Regions from separate parts of the Homo sapiens genome. Here regions 1, 3, 4, 5, 6 and 7 are each linked to region 2. The links are contacts of gene promoters, found by promoter capture Hi-C in blood cells and fetal thymus (Javierre and others, 2016). All regions are on one chromosome and are shown on one strand. The core of a region is centred on a gene start or on the middle of the fragment in contact, and the rest is flanking DNA. Distances in the headings are between cores, read along the strand shown. Region 1 overlaps LOC124901764 (a long non-coding RNA gene). Region 2 holds the start of EPHB6 (EPH receptor B6). Region 3 has its middle 73 kb from the start of MIR11400. Region 4 holds the start of PIP (prolactin induced protein). Region 5 has its middle 23 kb from the start of MIR11400. Region 6 holds the start of TAS2R39 (taste 2 receptor member 39). Region 7 has its middle 42 kb from the start of MIR11400.

Region 1 (3,919 bases), core at 1,073-3,572, 350 kb before region 2:
CTTGGCAGTGACACGGGCTCATTCCCCCCAGTTTCCAGAGCTGTGTCCTTTTCATTCCTCTTTCCAAATCCACCTCCACTCAAGCTTTCAATCTGTGCCTGGGCTCTGGTTTGAATGAGCCACTGATATATTTGCAGCCACCGGGGATCTGGAGTGCAGATGCAAATGGCAGTGTTCCCTGGTAAGTGTTGGTGACAATTGGATCTTTCTCTGATTTGCATTCCCAAGGCCTGCAGGTTTTCAGAAAATCACATCTTATAGGCAGTTCTGGGGAGGGGGGAGGTTTATTTTCAATGTCAGCTACAAATGCCGGCCCATGATAATTCTTAGAATGAAAGACCTCTCATTTGCAAAGGAGAGGATAGTTAGAGCCAGAACAATTCACTTAGCAAAAATTTGGGCCCAAAAATATATATATAGGAGAAGGGATTGTTGGTGGGTAGAGAGGCCTGGAGATCAAGAGCAAGAGATGAGATAAACACAAGTTTGGAAGCCATTGGCTTGTGAGGGGACCTGAGCACTTAGAATAGAGGAGACCCCTCAGGGAGAGCTTGTATGGAGAGAGAGAAAGGTGCATCCTGACCCCATCCTGGGCATTTCTCTTTGAAACTCAGCCTTGTTATAATTCATTTCTAATTCTGATATCAGCAGTGAGGGTTCATCTAATCTATTCTCATCACTTCTTGAGCCTCTCAGCTCTCACTGGTCCTGGCTCTTGCCTGGAGATGATTTTACTCAAAATTCTAGTCCAGGATTTAGAATTGGTCTAAGTACAGATGTGCATCAGGAGGCTATTTCAAAATCCCAGATGAGCTCATACATAAAGTAAGGATTAATTTTTTATTTTGTGAACCAATTGTGTAAAAAAAAAAAAAAACAACAATGCACATTAGGAAAGTAATTCATTTAATTTCCATGACCCAGCCCCTCCTGCCTACAAGCCCCCCTCCCCCATCCCATGCAATCCACCTCATAGGTAAAAACATATTCTGGGCAAACTGACTCATTTCATGTCACATTTATCCCACTCAAGTTTGTCCCTCCTGCTTTGAGCCTGGATTCCACGTAAAGGTGGAAGGTGATTTGGGCTGGTCTCCAGGCAGTCACCACCTGCAACCTATTTTCTTCTCATCACGACACCTACGTTCAGTGTCACCTTTTCTTCTCCCTTGGGCTGCCCCTTTCTTGCTCACTCCCATGTTCCAATGCCAGCAGCTCTGTCTTTGTGCTCAGCCATGCTTGTTGTTCAGCAGCATTCCTCATTAGAATCCCATTATTTGATGGTCAGAGTAGGGTCTCCATGGTGATACAGGCACAAGTGTAGCCAGTATTCTGCCACCGCATCTTACCTACTTGGCAGGCAAGCTAGAGTTGGCCTAAATTCTGCTTTTATCATTTATGTGTTTGTTCTTATGCTTTTAGGAAAAAAAAATCCTGAAATAATGGTGAAGGACAGCAAGTATTTGCCTAGAGTGCATGCTAAGAAGTCTCCATAGATGTTTTTCTTTAAGTATCCTGACCGCTTAACATATTGATGAAGACCTCTTATTTCCAGGTCAACAATCAGCTGTTACCAACTTAAGCTTTCTAAACATTTTCTGTGAAACAAATTTTTGCCAGTAAGAAAAGGAAATTGGGAGCTGCCACTGCTTAATTAATTTGAAGCTTTGATAAGCTTTGCCAGAGAGTCGCATAATAGAATTAGCAAGTTTCTTAACAGGTGAGAAAGCACATGAGCATAAACAAAAATAGGATAAGACTATCATCAATGGGGTTTATGCACCAGCTTAAAAAGCCAGTTTGGGGGACTTTTATGACTCTGAATTAAGATTTGTGCAATATAAGATTGTCCAGGATAAAATATTTTGGGCACCAAATATTAAGCTTCTGAAATAGACCCAGAGGTTCTTGTATGATAAAAAAAAAGTATGTATAAGGTTTTGATTTGATTTTTTAAATAATGTGTTCACTACTTCCCTTTCTTCTGAGACTCCATAGAGAAAAAAATATCATAACACTAAAGAGAAGGGAATGAGGATGGCCAAGAGCAGACTGGAGATTTCATCCTATTTCTTGGTTGTGGACAATCAGAAAAAGCATATTGTAGATGAAGTGGAGTAAAGGATGCTCAGAATATGCATGTCATGGGCCTCTGGGAATGTGGTGGCTGATCAGGCTGCTAGAAGCCTGGAGGGCCTTGGCTATCGGATTCCTAGCTTTGGATAGCAGGAGCGAGACATTGTGCAAAAACCAGAGGCATCATTAAAATTCTGTCTGCCATATAGCTGCATCATTGATGCTTTCCAGTGCCTTCCTTGCCACTGCATACAGAACCATCGAAAACCTTCATATTGAGAATTCTTTTCTAGAAAAATTGAATACATTTCCAAGGAAGAACTAGGGCTTCAAGTGCAGATATTTGCACATAGATTAAACCCTTTTTTTATTATGGCATTTTGAATTTCCAGGCTAATGTCAGATTCCACACCCACATACCTAAAAGAGGAGCCAGCCTGTCAAGGTGGCCCAGTTACAAAAGAGAGCTTCCAATCAGCCTTTCCATTCAGGAGACCGTTCTACTGGAGAATGATACCTGCTTACCCAAAACAGCCTTTCCTTTTCCTTCATGAATTACTAATCAAGGATGATCAGAAATAGGAACAAAATCCACAGCCTGAAAGAGAAAGACCAAGCTAAACACCAAGAGTGAATTACCCCTGAAGAAATAAAGATCAAAGAAGACAAAAAATTTAAGCTTGTGTCCTTAGAGGAGGCACAGAAGATATTGCCTCCATAAAATAAGAGAAGGATGCTATTAAAAATAAACAATTAAGAAATGAGAAGGTGAAAATGTAAATTAGTAAGTCATTATGGAAAACAGTATGGAAATTCCTCAACAGTTAAAAATAGAACTAGCCATATGATCCAGCAACCCCACTACTGAGTATATGTCCAAAGGAAATCACTGAGAGGTATCTGAACTCTCAATGTTTATTGCAGCACTGTTTACAAGAGTCAAGATATGGGATCAACCTATGTGTTCACCAATGGGTGAATAGAGAAAGAAAATGTGTTTTATATATACACAGTGGAATACTATTTAGACATAAAAAATAACTGGAATACGGCCTGCACAGTGGCTCACACCTGTAATCCCAGCACTTTGGGCGGCCAAGGCGGGCAGATTGCCTGAGGTCAGGAGTTCGAGACCAGCCTGGCCAACATGGTGAAACCCTGTCTCTACTAAAAATACAAAAATTAGCCCGGCGTAGTGGTGCATGCCTGTGATCCCAGCTACTTGGGAGGCTGAGGTAGGAGAATTGCTTGAACCCAGGAGGTAGAGGTTACAGTGAGCCGAGATTGTGCCACTGCACTCCAGCCTGGGCAACAGTGTGAGACTCTATCTCAAAAAAAAAAAAAATTGTAGTACTATCATTTGTGGCAACATGGGTAAACCTAGAGAACATTATTTTAAGTGAAATAATCCAGGCACAAAAAGACAAATACTGCATGATCTTACCAATATGTGGAATCTTAAAAAGTTGATCTCATAGAAGTAGAGAGTAGGATAGTGGTTATCAGAGGCTGGGGAAGATAGTGAGATTAGGGGGCAAATGGGGAGAGATTTGTCAATGACTACAAAGTTACAGTTAGATAGGAGGAATTAGTTCTGGTGTTCTATTGCACAGTAGGGTGACTATGTTAGTTAACAATGTTGTGTATTTCAAAATAGTTAGAAAGGTGGGGCACAGTGGCTCAAGCCTGTAATCCCAGCACTTTGGGAGGCCAAGGAGGGTGGATCACCTGAGGTCAGTTCAAGACCAGTCTGACCAACGTGGTGAAACCCCATCTCTACTAAAAAAATACAAAAGTTAGCCAGGCGTGGTGATGCATGCCTGTAATCCCAGCTACCTGGGAG
Region 2 (3,720 bases), core at 150-2,649:
ACTCAGTGTCATTGCCAACCATCTTTTTGCACCCTGAATGGAGTAATAGACTCCAAACAAGTCCTCCTTCTGAGGCCACCAGGTAAGTACATAGACACCCCCACGCTAATCTTCCTTTGAGAAAAAAGGCCCACTGCTCTGAAAAGCCAAGTGGCCCCACTGAGCAGCACTCAGAAGCCTCAATGCTCCAATGCCCCTTACTTGGGCAGCTTCTGTGGTCTACTAACAGCCCCACACAGCTCCCTCCCACTGGTCTCTCAGCTCAGGACCAGCATCTCCCCTCCTAGAGCCTCAGTCAAGTTCCCCTGGCGGGCGGAGGGCCTGGGTTAACTGGGAACAGACCCAGCAGCTCCGCTCCATGGGCGCTGCCAGGGACATTACAACATTGCTATGCTGGGTCCATGCCAGCTCCCCCAGGGATGGGAGGAGAGAGGGTGCCAGACGGCCAAGATCGGTGGGTGGGGGTGTGGGGCAAGCAGGGCCAAGCACCCAGATGGAGGGAGCAGAGCGAGGGTGGAGCTGGGGCAGGAGCACGCAATAGAATTTGGTTGCACGTTGGGGGTGATGGCTGGGCAGCAGGAACCAAGCGTTCCTTCCACCTCCAAGGCTTAACTGTGGTCATGGAGCTGGGGGGGACAGTGCCTTGTGGGGAGCAGGGGACAGGTGTGTGGTCAGCCTCCTGACTCCTCCCAGCTCCAAGGGGATTGGAGTGATGCCACTGGAGTCAGAGGGGTGGCAATCCTGTTCCAAGCGTGGAGCTCCGTCTCTGCGAGGACCCTCCCAGATTAGGACTCCCAAGCCAGAGCCAGAGGAGAATGTCTGGGAACGCAACTGGGGGATCCTAACAGCAAGGGTAATGCGGTGTCAATGATGCCAGGTCAGAGTGGAGTGAGAGGGGAGTAGCCAGGTTGACCGTTTCCTCACCCTTCATGAACCCCACTCTGGCCTTGAGGAAGGATCCTCAGTACTCCCTCAGGAAGCCACCTAGGGGCTGAGGAGCCCCACTACTCTTGCAAACCTTAATTCCTCTGTCCCCAAGCATACTGTCCCCGACCCCCACAACGCCGCCTGCTAACCCCGCGGGCTCACCTTCCCGTTGGCCGCAGTCTCTGCAGGTCTGCGCCCCCCGAGGCCTCGCAGTGGACCCGGGGCTCCTGGAGCTCGCACGGTGCCACCCGCGTCTTCTCCAGTCCGGGGACCCCGTTGCACCCGGCCCGGGTCCGTTCGGCGCCGAGAGTCCCTGGGATTCCGGGGTGGACCTGACGCTGGCGGCAGGGGCTGCTCCAGAGGTGGGGCGCCGGGAGATCCTGGGGGCCCGCGTCGAGATCGCCGTCGCCAAGCTGGGTCCCGGGTCCCGCCGCCCGCTGCTGTAGAGCCGCGGCTGGAGCGAACGCAGCCCGGCCCGCCCCCTCCGCGTCCCCTCCCAAGCCGGCCCGGCCCGCCCCTTCAGCCCCTTTGGCCGCCTTCCCACTCCCTTCTTCCGGGGAGCCGAGCCCGCCCTCCCGGCCTAGGCGGTGAGTGCGCGGCGCCCGCTCCTCCGCCCCGGCGCGCGGGGGAGACGCGGGGCGCGCCCGGGGCCCCGCCTGTGCGCCGGGAAGGGGGCGGCCTCCTCCCGCGGGTCTTGGCCGGGAGGATCGCACGCGTGGGGCGCCTGCAGGAAGTGGGAAGGGAAGAGGCTGTCTGTAAAGCCCCTGCCTGGGCTCGGGCTCGGGCTCGGCTTGGGTCGGACACCCGCGGAGCGAAGCGCAACTGGCGGACCGTGGCAGTTCAGGGCAGGGCAGAGCCCTGCACACACCCCCTCGCGCCTCCCTCCTCTTCGGCTTTAACTCTAGGAACTAAAACAGTGGGGCTCCTACTCAGCTTGGAACTAAGGTGGGCGTGAGCTGAGCAAGAGAGAAGGAAGGAAAAGCAGGGGGTGGAGGGAAAGACAAACTGAGAAATCTGGGAGAGTACGGGCGGTGGTAGGGGGAGCCGAGGCAGCGGGAGAGGGGGGCGTCTCGGTATGAAAGCGTCGCCGTGCTAGCCGGGAACTCTTTTCTCTTTTCGTGTCTGGATCTTGGTCAACGTTGGGGCTTCTGAGTCGAACCTCCCTCCATCTACCCTCCCCAAGGGGCAGGGCAGTCGGGTTGAAAAGGGGAAGCGCTGCTGTACGCCTGGCTCTGACATGGCTTGGGCAAGTCGCTGCACCTCTGGGTGCCTCCTCCCTCGCCCGCGCTCCGGAGAGAACCTCCCTGCAGTGAGGAGGGGCGGTGCAAGGTGCTCTCAGCTGGCGCCTGGAGGCAGGGTTGAGGAACCGAGGGGGCGCCGCGAGGAAAAGTGTTTCCGCCCACCTCTAACCCCTTCTCTAGCCGAGGACGGGGATTTGGGGTCTATTGTTTGGGTCCTACAGAGCTGGGCTGGGGCCTTGCCACGAAGTGTTGCTACCACCTGCTGGTTTTTCTAGGGAGCACAAGCACCCGGTGCGATTCCCTTTGCCCCCTTTTCTCCCTGTATCGCCCTGTCCCATCTTGCTCTCCTGTTTATTAAAGCAAATGGGCTGATCAAAACTGGTACTTAAAGAGCATTCAGAAGCCGAAGAAAATTGTGAAAGAGATCTATGAGCCAACAAACACAATAAACAAAACAATGAAACTCAGTAAGAGTCACCTGGGAGAGACAAACAGGCTTTAATGAATTGACTGAATGAGTGATAGAAAGATAAAGGCTACCGAGCAAGTTCCCACTTGGCCAGGGGTTTGTTCACTCTTAATATCAGGAGTCAATAAATAAGTCTGATAGTATTTAATGACTGCATTTGGACGTCATTAATAATTCCACTTGTACTGACGGTTCTACTTTATCTTGTTTCTTCCCTTTGCCCTGAAACTCAGTGGTGGAGGGCTTCCTTCATTTTCTGGTTATCTCCAAGGCTTTCAAAGACTTCTGCAAAGAAACAGAATTTGCATTGTGTGTGGAATTACGTAACTCATACATTAACATGCCTGATTGCTAGACATCTATGGTTATATTGAAAACTTAAAAAAAAGACACATAACTAGATTATGTTAAAATAAAAATATGGACAAAACCAAACCGTAGTTGTTACTTTATAAAACCCAGAAATTCCTGTAGTAATTTGCAACGTATCCTGTATTGACATAACAGTAAAAATATCTGCCTTCTTTTCTATTTCATGATATACCTCATATTAGGTGACTATAATATGAAATGAAGTTTTTGCTGCTCAAGGCTTGTGTAATTAGTTATATTTGTCTTGTTAATAAAATTTGAGAGGCATCTAGTTTTCAAAGGAAGTGTCATACTCAGGATGCAAAGAGGTTTAAATTTGTGATTAGTCGGCTTTGCATCCTAATTGCCTATGTCTTATCAAACCAAGTTTTAATGGTAGGTGGAGAGCATAGAATGCATTGTTAAAGTATGCTGCAACCTGCAGCTATTAAAAAGCAAAGTAATGAATTCCTTTTTAAAGTTTAATGTAAATTTTTTGCTATAATTTGTTTGGTGCCTGGGACACTCCAGGTGCTTAGAAGTGTTATAGAATGAATCAATAAAAAATAATATTTAAACTTTTTCTATGTGGATGGGCACAGTGGCTTATGCCTGTAATCCCAGCACTTTGGGAGGCTGAGGTGAGAGGATCACTTGAGGTCAGGAGTTTGAGATCAGCCTGGCCAACATGGTGAAACCTCATCTCTACCAAACAATACAAAAATTAGCCAG
Region 3 (3,631 bases), core at 647-3,146, 450 kb after region 2:
AAGAATTGAAAACAAGGAATCAAACAGATATTTCCAGGCCAATCTTGACTGCACCATTGTTCTCAATATCTACAAGGTGGAAACCACCCAAATGTCAATTGACTAATGAATGAATAAACAAATGTGTTATATACACACAATGGAATATTATTGAGAATGAAAAAGAATGAAGTTCTAATAAATGCTACAATGTGGATACACCTGGAAAGCGTTATGCTAAGTGAAAGAAGCCAGAAACAAAAGGAAAAATAGTGCCTGGTTTCATGTAAATTCATTATCTAAAATAGGCAAATTCGTTCATATACAAAATAGATTAGAGTTTGCCAGAGGAGGGAGAATGTGAAGTTATTTCTTAATGGGTACAGGGTTTCTGTTTGGGGTGATGAAAATAATTTTGGAAATGGATAATGCTGATAATTCCACAACAAGGTGAATGTACTTAATGTCATTGAATTGTACATTTAAAAAATAAAGTGATGAAATTATATGTTACGTGCATTTTATCATACTTTTTAAAAGATGGAAAGACTACCTTCAAAATAGGAAAAACACTGACAGTTGCATTCTCCATTATTGAACTTAAAGACAATGAAAGGAACCCAAGTGATTTAAATACATTGATAAATTTTCCAGAAATGTGGTTTGTCACAATATATCCCACAGTGGGTTTTCTGATGTAGTTGTAATTATCTTTTGTAATAAATATACAAACAATTTTCACCAGCCCATATGTCTACTCAAATGTAGGACTGTCATTCCTTGGAAAAGTATCCAATCTAGTAATTTTGAAATCATAACTTACTGTTTCAGGTTGCAATATTCTGATTGTAAGTAAGGTTGCGAAGTTATTCTCATGTTTAGTGGTAACTTATGTTCACTCTTGTGTGAATTGCCTACTCAGCCTCAGTATTGCTATTTTTATTGAGCTGTCTTCTTAATACTAAGTAATAAGAATATTTTACTCATTCTAGATACTAATTCTCTTAGACAAGAACAGCTGTGCTACAGAAAACAAAACAAACAAAACAAATCCTAAAATCTCACTGGCATAGCTCTATGAAGTCTTACTTCCCATGACCACAAAGCCCAGTGTGGCATGAGCAGCTTTCTTCTGTGATTGTCCACCAAATTCTGACTCAGTGAGCCAGGCTGCTTCCATATTATCATTAGGCAATCTGTACCGTGTAGCTCCCGAGTTCAGGACATGGCAAAAGAGAGTTGAAGAGTGTCTGTGCACAAGAGTTGACAGGAGGCTGGAGACTGCGGTGCTTAGAAAGTCCTGCTTGCAAGATTGGACTCTGGCAGACATCTGGGAGCTTGGCTGGTGAACGGTGCCCTGAACTGATGCAAAGTTTCTCCTGACTGACAGGGGTGGCTCATCGTTCCTAGGCTGGTGTTGCAAATAATATTATGCTGAACATCAGATTTTCTTTTGGGATCTAGACTTTTGGTTCATGCTAAAAAGTAGGTGCCTGTGTGACCAGCTTCTACTAAAACCTCTTGGGTGCTAAGTCTGTAATGGGCTCCCTTGGCAGATACACTGCACGTGTGTTAATGCATTTTTGCTGCTGGGAGGAGAGAGAGCTCTGTGTGACCCCTCCTGAGAGGAAGAGAGCATAAGGAAGCCTGCCTGTGAATTCCTCCAGATTCTGCCTGTGTGTTTTCTCCACATGTTCTGCTGCAGAGTATTTACTATGACACTTTAATAAATCTTAGCCATGAGTACAACTCTATGCCATATACCAACACTCTAAACATGGGAGTACATTTAGAGACCCTCAACATGGTGCCACAGAATATTTTTAAGGGCCAGGCTTGAAATGAGCTGACATCATTTTATCCCACTATTCAGAACCTGGTGACATGTTCCCACCCCTCCAACTGCAAGGGAGACCAGAAACCATGGAGGAGCTACAGGTATTCAGTGATGTTCTGAATGTTCTCTGTTACACTGAATGTTCTCTGTCACACTGATTTTTCATCATTTGTATGCATTCCTCATGCCTTTCCCAGGCTGTAGCTTAACTTTATTTTTTATGGTGTGTTTTGGCTTGAAACAATTTAATGCAACTAGCGTTATGAATGTTGTTCTTTTGGCTTGTGGCTTTTTGTCTCCTCTAAAAATGTCATCCCTCAACTGAATGCATAAAATGCTTTTCTTAAATTTTTCTAGTAAACTTTCTTTTTTGCTTTTTACAATTAAGAGCAAGTGTGCCTGAAATACACTTTAATTTAAGAAATGAAGTAGAGATGTAGGACTAAGTGGGTGGTATGTATGCTCAGTGCAGAAGAAAGAATTTATATAAACAATCCCCAGGGTGGAAAACAACAGACACATATGAAGAAATAACTGCATGTAAGGGAGTGTGGCTGGAGCAGAGAGCCAGGGAAAACATGGTGCAAAATGATGATGAAGAGGTACGTAAATGGCTAATGATATAGGACCTCGTGGGTCTATTGCCCTTAGAATAAAGGGCCCCCAGGAGCAGAGACCACATGGGCAAAGATTTATGATTGGGAGTTGAAAGGCAGTAGAGGGTAGGGGAAAGGGTATGTGGAAAAGTCACCCAGCCCTTAGGGTAGAGAAGAATATGGTGGGTTTCAAATTTTCAACGAAATTAGGAATCTCGACTAAAGATGCCTTTTCCATTTTACAAAAGGAAAGAGGGAACTGCAGAAGCTAAGGGTGTTGGGGTGACCTCCAGTTGGTCTGAGACTGGGGTAGGAATGGACCTCAACATCAAGGTTTATATGGCCCCTGCTCTATGGCCCCCAGGCTAGCCAGGGCTCTCCGACTCCTGTGAAGGCTGGGACTTGGGAGCACAGGCAACCTCAGTCATTCTAACTGCCCTTTATGTGCAGAGAGGAGGCAGCTGTGCAGCACTGTGGACTCACTGCTGGCGCAGAAATATACAGATGTCTGGGAGGAGGCAGCAGACTCCAGAGTGAGGGGGAGGTCCTCTGTGTTTGATCTAGAGACACTGTAGCCATCTGAGACTTCTCCTTTGTTAGTGTCGTGAACACCATATGAGTAATGGATCAGCCTCAGCCCATGTCCCAGGTCTTGTCGATACCAGAACATATTGTTGTGGTTCCAAGTCTGGTGACACGCCAAGGTCACCTGCCTTCCTGTCTCTGTGATCTTGTGTCTTGGGCTCTGGGTGATTTCAGCATCCCTGTGTCCTGTAATAGAGAACAACAGATGCTGATGCTGTCATCCCAACAGAAAAGCCTGCACTGAGGCCTTGGGAATTCCAGGGAAGGAGGCCCTCCTGTGACCAGCCCTCACCTGCCCACAGCAGACAAAGGGCCACATAGAAGAAGAGCCTCGTGCCCATTTCAGCTCCAGGGCAGGATCTTGTGTCTCCCAGCCCTGCTGTGGGCAGACTGAAGTTGGGCTCTCAGTGACTTGATGATGTCACTGTTCCTGCTGAATGCTTGAACTGCGGAGCTAACCTGCCATGCCCCTTCTCTTCCCCGCAGGAACAAATTATTTATAACAGAGTTGAATAATTTTTAGGTCTGTTTTGAAAGAAATCTAATAAACTCCTAAGCTCTTTCCCTGATTTTAATAGGGGAATTTGTTCTTCTATGTATATTTTATTTCCATCATGAGAAATTCTTTATTTGA
Region 4 (3,579 bases), core at 1,039-3,538, 280 kb before region 2:
AGAGGAAAAGAAGTCATTATTCAAAAAAGATACTTGCACACACATGTTTATAGCAGCACAATTCACAATTATAAAACTGTGGAACCAACCCAAATGCCCATCAATCAACGAGTGGATAAAGAAACTGTGGTATATATATATATATATATATATATATATATATATATATATATATATATATGATGGAATACTACTACTCAGCCATAATAAGGAATGAATTAACAGCATTTGCAGTGACCTGTATGAGATTGGAGACTATTATTCTAAGTGAAGTAACTCAGTAATGGAAAACCAAACATCGTATGTTCTCACTGATATGTGGGAGCTAAGCTTTGAGGACTCAAAAGCATAAGAATGATACAATGGACTTTGGGGACTTGCGGGGAAGAGTGGGAGAGGGGTGAGGGCTAAAAGACTACAAATATGGTGCAGTGTATACTGCTCGGGTGATGGGTGCACCAAAATCTCATCACCACTAAAGAACTTACTCATGTAACCAAATACCACTTGTACCCCAGTAACTTATGGAAAAATAAAATAAAATAATAAAAAATTTTAAAAACCCAGCAAACATCTCAATGCACTGGAGGTATTTGTAGGAGCATCTTTGAAGATCCTCCTTCTGTGGTCCCCAGGTAGGGTTTAGGAATTTGTATTTATTTAGCTCCTTAGGAAATTTGGACATATGGCCATGTTTGGGAACTTTAGATACTACTCTACATTTAGACCATACACTGCAATCTGAAAAGGAAAGGAAATGGAGACAAATAAAATGGTCAAATGTTCTTCTTCAGTCAATGAGGACTGGGTTCGGGGCCAGGAGAGTTATTTTCTCGTCCCTAGAAACTCCCGGCTACGGACCTTTGTTATTGTGTGGGACAGAAGGGAATTGAGATTCTTAGCCCACAGTGTCTCACAGCCCCATTTTCTTGGGGCAAAGCATCTTAGAGAGATTCTATTTTTTGGTGCCAACTGCTGTAGTGCCCAGTGCACAGGAAAAGGGTATAAATACCTAAGCAACTTCAAAATCTCTCCCATTTGTATATGAGTTTCAGATTGATAGGATGACCAGCTTAGTTCGAGTGACTAACCATCTCAGTTTACCCAGGACTGAGGTCTTTTCCAGAATGGGTTGTGGAGGTGGCGGGGGAGGGCAGAGTTGCAGTGCTACAACCAGGAAAGTTCTGGGCAAATCAGGATGGATGGTTGATAACCTAATTAGCATAGCTTATTTGAATACCTTGCTGCCCTTCAGGGCTAAGTGGACTGTCATCTGGCGGGAATGGGGTGGGATCTGAACCTGTCCCCATGCAGGGTTTCTTGGGACACTTGCCTCCATTACATTAGCTTGTCAAAACCCTGAACAGTTTCCTCCAGGACAGGATATCTGACCATGCCATAGAGAGTACCTCCAAGATCACAACCCAGAAACCCAGCATTATAAACCCTACTGCTATAGAGAAAACTCCCTAGATTGGGTATCGCTGCTTTCTCCCAGACCCTTGGCTCCATTTTCTACTTTATTTTACTTGCTCCAATTTTTCTGCTTCCTTCACACATGTGTTCTCAATAAGTTGACTTCTGAACCTGTGCTCTCAGGTCCCAGTATACGTGAGAGCAAGAGGTCATCATATTCATCTTCAGACTTCAGGTTAGGAAGAATGTCTAAGCTGCCAGTCTAGCTCAATCTCAGACCACAGGGCAGTGGCCAGGGCCTCTGGTCCTTTAGCCAGTCCTGCCAAAGCTGCCCTAAGCTGCCATTGGAATTCACAGACCTGTTATGCTTCTCTTCTAGGAGGCAAGGTGTGAGAAGGTAAAGTTTACTGAGCAGAAATCTGAACAAAGGTATAAATTATGAACAAGATGTGGATCAGCATGTTAGATGAAGACTAACTACTAATTACAGCCTGTAGGTACATTTGGAGCTTTATTTCCACTGGCAATGCAGAAACACCCAGCAAAAATGTGAGAGGAGTTGGTGGGGCTTCCTAAGAGGACAAGAAGTGGAACCTGGCAGGAGATCCATGGGAGCTCCTGGGACTAGAGTTCTGGGAAGTTGAAAGAAATTCTCAGAAAGAGATATGTAATTTCCAGACTGGGAGAGGAGCCCTCCCTGCAATTTTTTTTGTGGGGAGGAGAAGGGCATGGCTCACGTGTTGTCCTGAGCTTTGTTGGCCCCCAACTGCAGGCAGAGAACCAGGAGCAGGGTGGCAGGGCTGGCCCTGAACAGGAGCTGGAGCAAGCGCATGCTGGAGAAAACAGAAGGCAATGTGTCCCAGAGAAGTGGTGTCCCAGGTGCCCAGCACATTTCTTATATACAGATTGATCAAGGAAGTGCAAGAGCTGCCAGGGAGATCCATGAGGTGAATCACCCATTCACCCTCCCCACTCGTGATCTTTCCTTGTTGACCCAAAGTTTGTTTTTCTAAGAAAAAATCAACACTCAGCTAGAATGTCAGCGTTTGAGAGAGGAGTCAGATTGTTCTTCCTTATTTTTTCAGCATCAGAGTTTCTCAAAATGGCTGGGACCTCAAAAGATACACCAGTTTTTCCCGAGTTTACAGATTCAGTTTTCTTTTCCCTCCTAATTTGCCTGTCTGAAGTGCTATGTGTAGTCTTAGCTTCAGTCACTGCTCCCCTGGTCTCTGAAAGCAGAGAACACAGCTGTGGTGGCAGGTTTCAGACCAGAGACATAGAACATCTTTGCTTGATCAAATTATAGTGAGTTCAAGATGCAATGCTATTCAAAACATTTCTTGGAGGGCTAGGATGATCAGGACTTCCCTAGCAGTCACTACCCATCATGAGGTGGAAGAGCTAGAGAAGACCTGAGCTGCTCTACATGATGGGGAAGTGAGTTCAAGACACTGGGTGATGTAAAGATGTTTATTGTCATTGAGTCCTTCTTAATTTCAGGTGTGGTTGCAATATACTGCAGATGTCCAAGATCCCCAGCTGCCCCACAATCCCCAAGGCAGGGTGATATTTTAATTCTAGACAATTCCTATAAATAGCTGGCACCCCCAAATCAGACTTCTTGGCACCAAAGAGCTGGCTTATTTTCTTATTGACATGGCCACTTTCTTACACTTGTCTCATGCGTAAGCCACACAGGAAGAACCACAGTGGAAAGGATTCCTTCTGTGAGAATGGAGCCCACATTATGTCCAGTAGATACCCAGGTTGTAGAATTCCTCTCCTTGGGATGATGGGGAGACTTGCTCTTGCTGACACTGGCATTGTGTTATTTCTCCTTATGAAATTAAATCTGCTCCTTAACCTATGACTTACAATACTATGGGATTTGTTTCTATCATTTGCATGGCACACAGCTGCCCAGGAAGAGCCTCTCTGGCAACAGAGTGAAAATCAGAGTTCTAGGAGTTACCGCCTCTGTATGTTGCTTTAGCCAGGATTCAGAGCTAAAGTGTAAGTGTGTGCTTCTGCTTTCTGGATGTATCTCTCAAAATTGCTCTGTCTGTTTATTCAGCTCCTGGATCTACCTTCTCTTTTCTTTGAATTGGACACCATTCATGTCATTGCTCACTCAGAACTTCAGCTGTTCTCATGATCACATGC
Region 5 (3,950 bases), core at 531-3,030, 360 kb after region 2:
GGTGGCTAAAAGTAGTCACACAGTAGCCTGAATGCTTTGCCTCTTAGATATTTCTTTCAGCAGATATACTAGCAAATGGCTCATAATTTTTATATTCCATAAAGTTCTAGAACAGGACACAATTTTGCCAAGGTTTTTGCTACTTACAACAAGGATGGCATTTACTTCGATTTTCAATACCTTGTTCCTCATTTCCCCCTGAGCCTTCACCAGAATTGCCCTTTATGCTCTGTTTTCAGGAATCTAGACTTTTGCTAGTCTGCTCCTCCCAATTCTTTCAGCCTCTATCCATTAGCCACTTCCCATTAACCAAAGCTGCTTCTACATTTTCAGGTATTATAGCAACAGCCTCACTCTCAGGTACCATATTTTCTTTCAATTTCTTTCCTACTGCTATAGAGAAATACCATGGAATGGGCAATTTATAAAGACAATAGTTTTATTTGGCTTATAGATCTGGAGACTGAGAAGTCCAAGATAGAAGGGCAATAACTGCTGAGGGCCTCCTGCTGTTATCCAAGGCAGAAGGAAGGGGAAGCAAGCACCGAAGTCAGAGAAAATGACTGAATTCATCCTTTTTATCAGAAGACCATTCCCAAGATAATTAATTCACTCCCACAATAAAGGGCATTGATCTGTTTCTGAGGGCAGATCCCTCATGACCCTAGTCATAGCTGTCCCACCTCCCAATACCATTACCTTGACAAGTTTCAACATGAGATTTTGTGAGGACATGCAAGCATAGCACACACATCTACACTATGAGTCAGTATTTCCACTCTTAAGTCTATTTCTTTAAAAAAAATGCATATGTCCACAGGAAGAATTCCACAAAAATGTTCACAACAAGTTTATTCATAATAGTTGAAGACAGGAGTAACATGGATATCCATCAACAGGAGCATGGATAAACAAGTTGTAGTATATTTATGCAATGGAATATTAGTCATAAGAATGACCTACTGATACAACGATATGAATATACTTCAGAAATACTAATTTTGGAGAAAAACAATTCAATAAAAATATGATTCCATTATATGAAGCTCAAGAATAGACAAAGCTACTCAACAGTGATACACATAGAAAAGTTTTTATCCCTGGGATAGAAATTGATTAGAAAGGAGCATGATGACACTTTCTTGAGTGACGGAAATTTTTTTTATAATCATTTCAGTTACTATTGCACTGGCGTATGCATTTGTCAAAATGTACCAGGATGTCCTTCTATTAATATTTGTGTTTTACTCTCTATTAATTATACCTTAATAAAAAGTATTACTAAAAATTAAACAGCTAAATTGCATAAAAGATGGGAGTCATTTACAAATGTATGCTTGTATTCTGCACAGCCCAATTTAAAAATGAATCACACAAAAAGAAGAAAAGACAGGAACACACATAGCTGTGTAAGATTTGGAGAATGTGAGAAGTGCTCAGTGACTGAAATAGACAACATTGAAATTTGGCCACAAAATAAGCTCAAGTGATGAGTGGGCTGAAAAACAAGTGAGGATCAATATCAAGGAAAGCTGTAGACAAACAAAAGCTCTCTAAAAATATCTTCATATGCTGTTGAAATCATTCTGAGAACCATGAGCTGCTATCCGTTTCATAACTTGGGAAATTGGGCATTCATCAGTCTCACAATTGAGACTTTCATTTCTTTTTGGCTTTCAACAGATTGGCCAATTGGTGAAGTGATTTTTTTGCCCAGCAAGCAGCCTGCTCCCCTCTTTGTGAGTGGGGTCCTGGGACACCCGGCCCTCCGCCTTTGGCAGCCTCACAGAGGGGAGTTGGGCACAGCGCAGACACACGGGGTTCCCTGCATGTGGGGTTTGCAATCCCTGTAAAGCCCAGCTGTGGATCTCCAGTCCTGCAGTTAATGGATCCCAACTAAAAAACCTTGCGTCTAGGTGTCTGCTCTACCTGTAAGTGCTAAAGAGGGATAGAGGCTGGAGAAAAATAAAATGTTTGCTCAATATTATTCTGTAACATTTTACAAGAAAATAAATTGAGGAGTCCATGCATTTTCATCCAAGCCAAGGTCATGAGGATAATAGCTGAATTTCTTCCTTAATCTACCCTGAGAAGACTCAAACACTGTTCTATGCCCACAAATACTTTAGTAGTGACTTATTTATAGTCTATTTTTGATAATTCTTCTAGTCAATTATATTCAGCTCTAACAGCACAGTTTGATGTGTCTACTAACATTTTCCTTCAGTAGTCTGTTTACTTAGGTGTTTTAGAACTTCTCAATATTTTTTGCCCTCCAGAGAACACATACTTGGTGTCCAATGGAATCTCAGCCAAGGTGATGTTATCAGTAAGACTTATGAACTTGCAGAATCCCAGATCACTCAAGCAGGTTAAAGCTGTTGCCTGGTCAGACAATTTCCAATGTTCCTCTGAGGCATTTGCTCCTCTGCACCCGCCCCTGATACGAAGGCAAAAATTCTTCAACTGTAGATGTCACTAAAGATTACAGGGACTTCCCGCCTCTTGCATAGCTGTAGGTAGCCTAGCAATAACTGAAAACTGCTGCAACATCTGCATAATATGGGATCCAAGCCCTAATTTTTCTTAACCCTTTCCCTCCTAGACTGCTCGCCCAGACTCCCCAGAGCCCAGTGGACCATAGTGCCATCTTGTGGCCAATAAGTGAAGTTTCATCATTATTTCTTCCGCTGGGAAGTGTCTGCTGAGTGAGCCGGCAGAATATTCCACAAGTGCCGTCCCGCAGGTGTTATGAGCAGCTTCCCTAAATCATCATACCAACACTAGTTCTAACCCTGACTATTGCTTTCAGTTACCAAAATCTTAATATCCCACCGTCATTCTGAAAAACTCTTAACAAATATCTCCAGTTATAGTTTAACTTTTTCTCCCTTAAACTACCATCTAAAGAAAGAGGAATAGAAGGAGAGGAATGAAAGAAAATAATATTTGGTTTTAAATAGTAAGAAAACACAGACGTTGAGGTATAAAGAGATTATTTAATGTGAATCACTAAAGATAAACAAACACATCCTCCTAAAATGACAATGTTACCCCAAAAGTATAGATCAGCAAAAGATGAAGTCAAATGTCTATTAATAAAAAGTAAAATTGAAATATATAAAATGAAACCTCTTACAAGGCAATAAGCAATGGTGGAGGGAGCAGTACCTAATGTAGAAACTAAGGATGGATATAGCTAAGACTAGCAAAGGGGCTGCTACAGGAAATGATCAGCTTGTACAATGCACATCCACTGATCTGAGCACCAAACACGGAAGAGATGATTCTGAAACAGGCAGAGGAGCAGCGGGAGATGAGGACATGCTGGTACAAAATAGCATCATAAGGAAGCAAATCAGCCAGGGGACTGTGGATTAGATAACTGTGCTTTCTCCTGTCTCCTGTGACAGCTGAACTGGACCATTTTCCTCTCCAAGGATTTGTTCCCGCACCCTGAGTTAGAGGACCCTGGGATTTGCTCCTCCTCAGCTTCCCATGGATGAAAATCCCTCTCCCTCCTTGTTGAGCATGGTCTGAAAGAGAGGTCATCTCTCCCTCCCCTTCAATCTCACAGTATTGGGGATTGGCACAGACTTCTCAATTGGCATCGGCCTCTCTCAGGGCATGCTCACATGCCCCCTAACTGTGACTTTTCATTTCCACTAGACTGAAAGTTAGATGTGGGCAATGAAACTTAACACCTTTATCATAGGATGCATAAGTAACTGCTTTCAAAATTATTGTTGTTTCTTTCACTGCCTTGGGTTATATCTGAACAGGAAAAAAAGGCACAATTTCTTAATGTGACTTAACCACAAAAACCTTCCCAAGTGCCAAGAACAATATAACTGTAAAGGGATTGCTGTCCTAATTGGTGAGATGGCCAAATAAAACAAAAACAAAGAAAATGTTATCAAATACTTTAATGGAGACCCAGAATCCCAGTC
Region 6 (3,889 bases), core at 1,342-3,841, 330 kb before region 2:
GTTAAATAGTCATTTAAATGTGGGATTATTTCACATTTAGAAGGGTCAGGAATTTAGAATATTGTATGATTTATTTATATAAAAGCTATATTAGGGAAATTCTCAAACATATTCTGAAATAGAATAGTAGAAAGAACTCCACATGCCTGAAGCCTTGTTTAAAAAAACATTAGCATAAGAATAACCCAAACCACCCCGTTCTCTACTCCTTTGTCCTATGTTGGATTAATTCAAAGCAAATCACAGATACAGCTCATTTCATCTGTAAATATTGAAGCTATTTTTGAAGGGTGAGTATAATGATTGACCAGTAATCCAAATTGAATATGAAAGGAAGAGAGGACAGGCCTGATAGAGGGACAGAGAATATAGAGGTGTCAATGGATTGAAAGCCTGTGATGTTTAATTTGTGATTTGTTTGCATTTTTAATAAAACCCAATAGTGAGAGAGCCAATCAACAAAATAATGTGCACTATCCTTTCTCTCAAATCTTTTTTACTTACCAATTCTCTTTCTAATAAAAATCAATATAAATCTTTTAAAATTTTAAAATTAGTGAATACATGTTCTAAGTAATTCAAACAATGCATAAAGGCATAAAATAAACGGTAAATATTTCATTTATTCCCCAGATACCCAGTGACACCACTCAGAAGCCCTCTGTGAATTATTTTTGGTATATTTGTCCAGAAACTTTGCATGTACATATATATACATACAAATATATAAGTATTATGAAAAAAAGAAATACAGATGGAATCATAAAATATCTCCTTGCTTTTTGCACTGTGTATTGGAAATCTTTTCATCTCAGGAAGCATGCATCTATCTCATTTAAAAAAGGTTAACATAATATTCATTTCAGACATTCAATTCCCGTCATTCATGAACAGTGCAGCTGTGAAGAGCCTCTTGCACATATTTTTGCTTATTTATACAAAACCATGCTTAGAAAAAATTCTTAGTAATTTTTAGGATGAAAGGTGTTTTATGCATTATTAATTTTGATAAATAGTTCCACATTATTTTGGTTATATCTTTGAAAGATGGAGACAAAATGCATTTCAAACTTCTGCTCAGAAAACTTCCCAAGTTATCTAAATGTGTTTAAAAGGCATGTGGAGGGAGAAAGAGAGTTGTCAGGAACTAGTTTCAGAACATTCTTCTATTTTGGTGGCTATACAACCCTGCTGCACAGCAGAATCACCTGGAGATCTTAGAAAATTGTGTGAGTTCTAACACTAGAAATTCTGACTTAATAGATCTGAGATTGGGTTTGAACATTGGTATTTTCAAAAATCAACCTAGAGATTCTAATGGGTAGCCAGTGCTTAGAATCACTGCTTTAAACAGAGCAAGGGGAGGTAGAGGGCTCAGGTAAAGAATATGACAGTACCACTAAGATTGTACCCATGAAGCAAAAAAGAAATGATCAATTTCCTATATAAAAAGCCACATCAGGCGAAAAGGGTCAGATGAGGGTTGGAGAAGAAAAGAAGAGAGAAAAGAGAGGTCTAGGTGAGGGAATGGCAGAGCTGGTAAGGCCAGGTCCTGTGGTCTTCTTGGGTGCTGGTCACAGAGTCCACTCTTTTGGGTAAAGATGAAGTCGAAGCTGAAGCCGCTTCCAGGCTCTTCTCAGCCCAGGGTTATCTTGAATCAGTAGAATTGAGTGGCTGGCAGGGTAGGCAGCCATGATGATCTGGCACAAATTATTCCACAGACTGTTGATGTCAAACATGTTGGACAGGTAGATAAACAGAGCAACTGCATTGAAAATGTAGAGAATGAGAAAGTAGCTGATAGCTTTGATGGCCCCCATGTGAGCCTCCATGCTGGGGTCGTTGGACCCTGTGGCATTGCTTCCCATGTGTAGGGTGTGTCTCTTGAGAGAGAGGATCAGCAGGGTGGCTGTCAGGATGAACATGATCAGAGGAGTCACAATCCCCAGGTTAAAGAAAAAAGCCAGACCGACCACATTGATCTCAGACAAGTATGTTTTCTTAGTGGAGTTGGAGGAGTGGATAGGGAAAGAATTGTTACAATACACAGTGCAGATGTTGATGCAGAACATGCTGTGACTGAAGGAAATAAACACGGACAGCCACAGAAGCCAGGGTATCAATCCAGTAATTCTCCACCTCAGTTTGAGGAAAAGGGGGTAGGAGAAATTGGCAATCTTCACAAAGTAGAAGAAACTGAGCCAGGCAGCAAACCACAGGCTACAAAAATTTAAGAATATAAAACTTATTTTGAATGCATAATATACAGCGTCTTCAGAATAAAAACTTAGGGAGGTTGAGCTGATGGTAATTTCTAACATCATGAGGCTTTGGAGAGCTATTCTGGATACACTCAGGAAAACCAGGATCCTGCCACTTGTGGAAACTGCCTTATTTTGAACCCATTCAGCTGCATGTATAGCCATGATGAAACCATTTGCAATGATACCAATGAGGTATTCAGCAAGTAAAACTGCTAAAATTAAGGTGATGAGAAATGGCGACAATTCACTTTCTGCAGGATCGCAGAGTTTAGTCATTCTGAGCTGTTGCTTCTCTTTGGTGTCTGGAGGAAAACATCTCCCTAGCATTTGATGGGCAGACTCTTGATAACTCCCAGTATTGATGTCATAGGAGGAAGCAATTGATGTATCATTTCCAAATTCACTGCATTTGTTTATTTCAGAATTCTTAGCTCTACATCTAGAGATGCAAATGTTGGAAGGATTTGGTTTCTAATCCTCTCTCTATTTTTGAACATGTTGGTAGTGGTTCAATAATGAGGCCCAGGGAAGCGCTTGAGTAGACTCTTTAAAAGCAGCTAACATGGTACTGAGGTCCGTGTTCTTTGGTAGCATCAGTTAATTTGAACATTGGTTAACTGAGTCATCATTTAACTTACTTTCACTTGTGACTGCAGAAAATGATTGAAAATAAAAACTGCTACACACATACACACACACACACGCACTTCTCATTTTGTGCTAAGAAATTTTCAAATGATTTATTTATAATTACTACATTTAAACCTCACAACAACCTTATGAGCATGTGCTTCTATTACCTCCATTTTGCAGATGAAGAAACTAAGGCATACAGAGGTTAAATAACTTGGCCAACATCACACAACTAGAGCGTGATAGAACTGGGATTCAAACCCAAGTCACCTGGTCGCAGAGTTCCTCCTCTTATCCACCATGTTATGCTACCTAGACCTGTGGATTCTTTTGTGTGCCCAAGACTAAATGCAGGGTTGATTCCACTATGACATTTTTTTCCTGGTAGCCTTTTATGTCCCCACCCTCTAAAGAAAAATCAATAAAGCAAGAAGACACTGATTTTTAAGAGATAGGACTCTCTTTTCAAAGTAGATTACTTGAGAGGTAATAAATTTAATTATACATAAAAGATCATACACACACACACACACACACACATATTCACCTTTCATTTTAAGCAAAACTAGGAAAATAAGAGTTGAAGGTAAAACTCCCTAGTTCCTAGCAAGGTAAGCTAGCGAACCTGAGAATAAAAGCAATGTCCCAATTCATCCAATTTTGGAATATTAAAACAAAAAGAAAGGAAAAAAGAATCACTTTTATCTTAAGGAATTTTTTTCTGATTTTAAAACGCAAGCATAGGACACATAATGATAAAATGGACTTTTCATTTCAGGGTAAATTAATTTTTATGAATGTATGTAACTTTAAAATAATGATGAAGTAATAATTCTAATAAAGAGAAAGTTGGTGGGTGAGAAGTCTCAGAAAATCTTTATAACATTTGGTTTTTACTTAAAGCCTTTTAAAAACAAGGCAAGAACTCATAAACGTTTTCTGGCTTGATTAATGATTTTAGATGAGTTGTTACGAATTTTACCATCTCATTT
Region 7 (3,939 bases), core at 680-3,179, 340 kb after region 2:
GCAAGCACCCAAGACAGAGAAAGTGGCTGAATTTATACTTTTTATCAGAAGACCATTCCCAAGACAACTAATTCACTCCCACAATAACGGCATTGATCTCTTTCTGAGGGCAGATCCCTCATGACCTAGTCATAGCTGTCCCACCTCCCAATACCATTACAATGACAAATTTCAACATGAGCTTTTGTGAGGACACGCAAGCATAGCACACACATCTACACTGTAAGTCAGTATTTCCACTCTTAAGTTTATACCTAAAATAAAATAAAAAAAAAGAATGTATATGTCCACAAGAAAGAGTTCCACAAGAATGTTCACAACAACTGTATTCATAATAGTTGAAGACAGGAGTAATGTGGATATCCATCAACGGGAGCATGGATAAACAAGTTGTGGTATAGTTATGCAATGGAATATTAGTCATAAGAAAAAATGACCTACTGATACAACAATATGAATAAACTTCAGAAATACTAATTTTGGAGGAAAATAACTCAATAAAATGTTATATGATTCCATTTATATGGAGTTCAAGAATAGACCAAGCTAGTCAGTGGTGATAAAAATAAGAAAAGTTTTGGCCAGGCGCGGTGGCTCATGCCTGTAATCCCAAAAATTTGGGAGGCTGAGGCGGGCAGATTTCAAGGTCAGGAGATCGAGACCATCCTGACTAACACGATGAAACCCCGTCTCTGCTAAAAATACAAACAATTAGCCGGGTGTGGTGGCAAGCATCTATAGTCCCATCTACTCCAAAGGCTGAGGCAGGAGAGTGGCGTGAACCGGGGAGGCAGAGCTTGCAGTGAGCTGAGATCACACCACTGCACTCCAGCCTGGGTGACAGAGTGAGACTCTTGTCTCTAAATAAATAAATAAATACAATTTTTATCTCTGGGATAGAAATTGATTGGAAAGGAGCATGACGACACTTTCCTGCATGACAGAATTTTTTTTATAATCATTTCAGTTACTATTGCACTGGCATATGCATTTGTCAAAATGTACCAGGATGTCCTTGTATTAATATTTCTGTTTTACTCTCTATTATACTTTAATAAAAAGTATTACTAAAAAGTAAACAGCTAAATCATAAAATATGGGATTCACTTACAAATGTATGCTTGTATTCTGCACAGCCCAATTTAAAAATGAATCACACAAAAATAAGAAAAGACAGGAACACACATATCTGTGTAAGTTATGGAGAATGTGAGAAGTGCTTGGTGACTGAAGTGGCAACATTGAAATTTGGCATCAAAATAAGCTCAACTGATGAGTGGGCCGAAAAACAACTAGGATCAAAATCAAGGAAAGCTGTAGACAAACAAAAGCTTTTTACAATATCTTCATATGCTATTGAAATCATTCTGAGAACCATGAGCTGCTACAAATTTCATAACTTGGGAAATTGGGCATTCATCAGTCTCACAATTCAGACTTTCCTTTCATTTTGGCTTTGAACAGATTGGCCAATTTTTGAATTGATTTTTTTGCCCAGCAAGCAGCCTGCTCCCCACTTTGTGAGTGGGGTACTGGGAGACCCGGCACTCCCCCTTTTCAGCCTCACAGACGGGAGTTGGGCACAGCACAGACACACGGAGTTCCCTGCACGTGGGGTTTGAACTCCCTGTGAAGCCCAGCTATGGACCTCCCAGTCCTACAGTTAATGGATCCCAACTAAAGAAACCGTGCCTCTAGGTGTCTGCTTTACCTGTTAGTGCTAAAGAGGGATACAGGCTGGAGAAAAATAAAATGTTTGCTCAATATTATTCTGTAATATTTTACAAGAAAATCAATTGAGGACTTCATGGATTTTCATCCAAGCCAAAGTCATGATAATAGCTGAATTCCTTCCTTAATCTACCCTGAGAGGACTCAGACACTGCTTGATGCCCACAAATACTTAGTAGAGACTTATTTATAGTCTCCTTTGTAAAATTCTACTAGTCTATTATCTTCATCTCTAACGGCACAGTTTGGTGCATCTACTAATATTTTCCTTCAATAGTTTGTTTACTGAGGTGTTTCAGAAATTTTTGTCAATACTTTTTGTCCTCCAGAGAACATGTGCTTGATTTCCAATGGAACCTCAGCCAAGTTGATGTTATCAGTAAGACTTATGAACTTGGAGAATCCCAGATCACTCAAGCAGGTTAAAGCTGTTGCCTGGCCAGACCTGCAGGGAAGATGAGGTGCAGCAGAGACCCACTGGGCTCAGGGCACAGCCTGCCTCTCACTTTTCCCTTTTCCTCTGAGGCAGTTGCTCCTCTGTCTGCACATGCCCCGACACCAAGGCTGCCTGGCCAAAATTCTTCAACTGTAGATCTGATTAAAGATTAGAGGGACTTCCTGCCTCTTGCATAGCTGTAGGTAGCCTAGCAATAACTGAAAACTCCTGCAACATCTGCATAATATTGAATACAAACCCTAATTTTTCTTAACCTTTTCCCTCCTAGGCTGCTCCCCCAGACTGCCCAGAGCCCTTTACATCGCAGTGGACCACACTGCCATCTTGTGGCCAATAAGTGAAGCTTCATCATTGTTTAATTCTGTAATGGCCCAAGGAATGCTGGGAAGTGTCTGCAGAGTGAGCTGCCAGAATATTCCAGAGGTGCCATCCCGCAGGTTTTATGAGCAGCTTCCCTAAACCCTAAGTCCTACATTAGTTCTAACCCTAATTATTGCTTTGAGTTACCAATCTTGATATCCCACCCTCATTCTGAATAACTCTTATCACATAGCTTCAGTTATAGCCAAACTTTTTCTCCCTTAAAACTACCATCTAAAGAAAGAGGAACAGAATGAGAGGAATGAAAGGAAATAATATTTGGTTTTAAATAGTAAGAAGACACAGACGTTGAAGTATAAAGAGATTATTTAATCTGAATCACTAAAGATAAACAAAAACATCCTCCAAAAATGACAATGTTACCCCAAAAGTATAGATCAGCAAAAGATGAAGTCAAATGTCTATTAATAAAAAGTAAAATTGAAATATATAAAACGAGACCTGTTACAAGACAATAAGCAATGGTGGAGGGAGCAGTACCTAATGCAGAAAATAAGGATGGATATAACTAAGAGTAGCAAAGGGACTGCTATAGGAAATGATCACCTTGTACAATGCACATCCACTGATCTGAGCAGCAAACAGGGAAGAGATGACACTGGAAGAGGCAGAGGAGCAGCGGGAGATGAGGACACGCTGATGCAAAATAGTATCATAAGGAAGCAAATCAGCCAGGGGACTGTGGATTAGATGACTTTGCTTTCTCCTGTCTCCCGTGACAGCTGAACTGGACCATTTTCCTCTCCAAGGATTTGCTCCTGCACCTGAAGTTAGATGCCCCTGGGATTTGCTGCTTTTCAGGTTCCCATGGATGAACTCCCTCTCCTTCCTTGTTGACCATGGTCTGAAGGAGAGGTCATCTCTCCCTCCCCTTCAATCCCACAGTACTGGGGATTGGCACAGACTTCTCAATTGGCATTGACCTCTCTCATGGCATGCTCACATGCCCCCTAACTGTGCCTTTTCATTTCCACTAGACTGAAAGTTAGATGTGGGCAATGAAACTTAACACCTTTATCATAAGATACACAAGTAACTGCTTTCAAAATTATTGCTGTTTCTTTCACTGCCTTGGGTTACAGCTGAACAGGAAAAAAAGGCACAATTTCTTAATGTGACTTAACCACAAAAACCTTCCCAAGTGCCAAAAACAATATAACTACCAAGGGATTGCTCTCCTCATTGGCGAGATGGAAAAATAAACCAAAAAAAAAAAAAAAACAAAGAAAATATTGTCAAATACTTTAATGGAGACACAGAAACCCAGTCCCTCTTATACAAACATCACTGTTTGGCCTCCCTCTACCTGAGAGACAGACAGAGCCATTCCTGTGCCCTACACCTGGCAGGAAAGCCCTGCTGGAGCCTGT

What was found. Contacts are between HindIII fragments. The CHiCAGO score rates a contact against its expected background, and 5 or more counts as called.
Region 1: a contact is called between a fragment that was not itself captured here and the fragment with the promoter of EPHB6 in region 2, in 9 of 17 cell types (M0 macrophages, neutrophils, naive B cells and 6 more). The highest score is 10.7, in M0 macrophages.
Region 3: a contact is called between a fragment that was not itself captured here and the fragment with the promoter of EPHB6 in region 2, in 1 of 17 cell types (naive CD4 T cells). The highest score is 5.3, in naive CD4 T cells.
Region 4: the fragment with the promoter of PIP here is called in contact with the fragment with the promoter of EPHB6 in region 2 in 6 of 17 cell types (M0 macrophages, M1 macrophages, total B cells and 3 more); the score reaches 8.8 in M0 macrophages.
Region 5: a fragment that was not itself captured here is called in contact with the fragment with the promoter of EPHB6 in region 2 in 1 of 17 cell types (non-activated CD4 T cells); the score reaches 5.3 in non-activated CD4 T cells.
Region 6: a contact is called between the fragment with the promoter of TAS2R39 here and the fragment with the promoter of EPHB6 in region 2, in 5 of 17 cell types (total B cells, neutrophils, M2 macrophages and 2 more). The highest score is 7.2, in total B cells.
Region 7: a contact is called between a fragment that was not itself captured here and the fragment with the promoter of EPHB6 in region 2, in 8 of 17 cell types (fetal thymus, endothelial precursors, M2 macrophages and 5 more). The highest score is 10.0, in fetal thymus.

The regions. Positions count from the first base shown.
Region 1 is chr7:143,200,977-143,204,895 of GRCh38, reverse strand. LOC124901764 (a long non-coding RNA gene) reads left to right here. Exons shown (of 2, transcript XR_007060567.1): 1 at 1-1,720; 2 at 2,469-2,840. Among named protein-coding and RNA genes, the nearest start is that of TAS2R40, 19 kb to the left of the region's middle. The HindIII fragment of the contact is 871 bases long and covers 1,887-2,757 here.
Region 2 is chr7:142,852,755-142,856,474 of GRCh38, reverse strand. EPHB6 (EPH receptor B6) reads right to left here and starts at 1,399. Exons shown (of 20, transcript NM_004445.6): 1 at 1,090-1,399. The HindIII fragment of the contact is 5,828 bases long and covers 1-3,720 here.
Region 3 is chr7:142,399,635-142,403,265 of GRCh38, reverse strand. It overlaps TRB and TRBV10-1. Among named protein-coding and RNA genes, the nearest start is that of MIR11400, 73 kb to the left of the region's middle. The HindIII fragment of the contact is 5,689 bases long and covers 1-3,631 here.
Region 4 is chr7:143,130,786-143,134,364 of GRCh38, reverse strand. It overlaps PIP (prolactin induced protein), which reads right to left and starts at 2,288. Exons shown (of 4, transcript NM_002652.3): 1 at 2,154-2,288. The coding sequence starts at 2,248. The HindIII fragment of the contact is 4,172 bases long and covers 333-3,579 here.
Region 5 is chr7:142,495,394-142,499,343 of GRCh38, reverse strand. It overlaps TRB. Among named protein-coding and RNA genes, the nearest start is that of MIR11400, 23 kb to the right of the region's middle. The HindIII fragment of the contact is 6,150 bases long and covers 1-3,950 here.
Region 6 is chr7:143,182,121-143,186,009 of GRCh38, reverse strand. It overlaps TAS2R39 (taste 2 receptor member 39), which reads right to left and starts at 2,591. Exons shown (of 1, transcript NM_176881.2): 1 at 1,575-2,591. The coding sequence starts at 2,591. The coding sequence ends at 1,575. The HindIII fragment of the contact is 8,536 bases long and covers 1-3,889 here.
Region 7 is chr7:142,514,732-142,518,670 of GRCh38, reverse strand. It overlaps TRB. Among named protein-coding and RNA genes, the nearest start is that of MIR11400, 42 kb to the right of the region's middle. The HindIII fragment of the contact is 1,200 bases long and covers 1,330-2,529 here.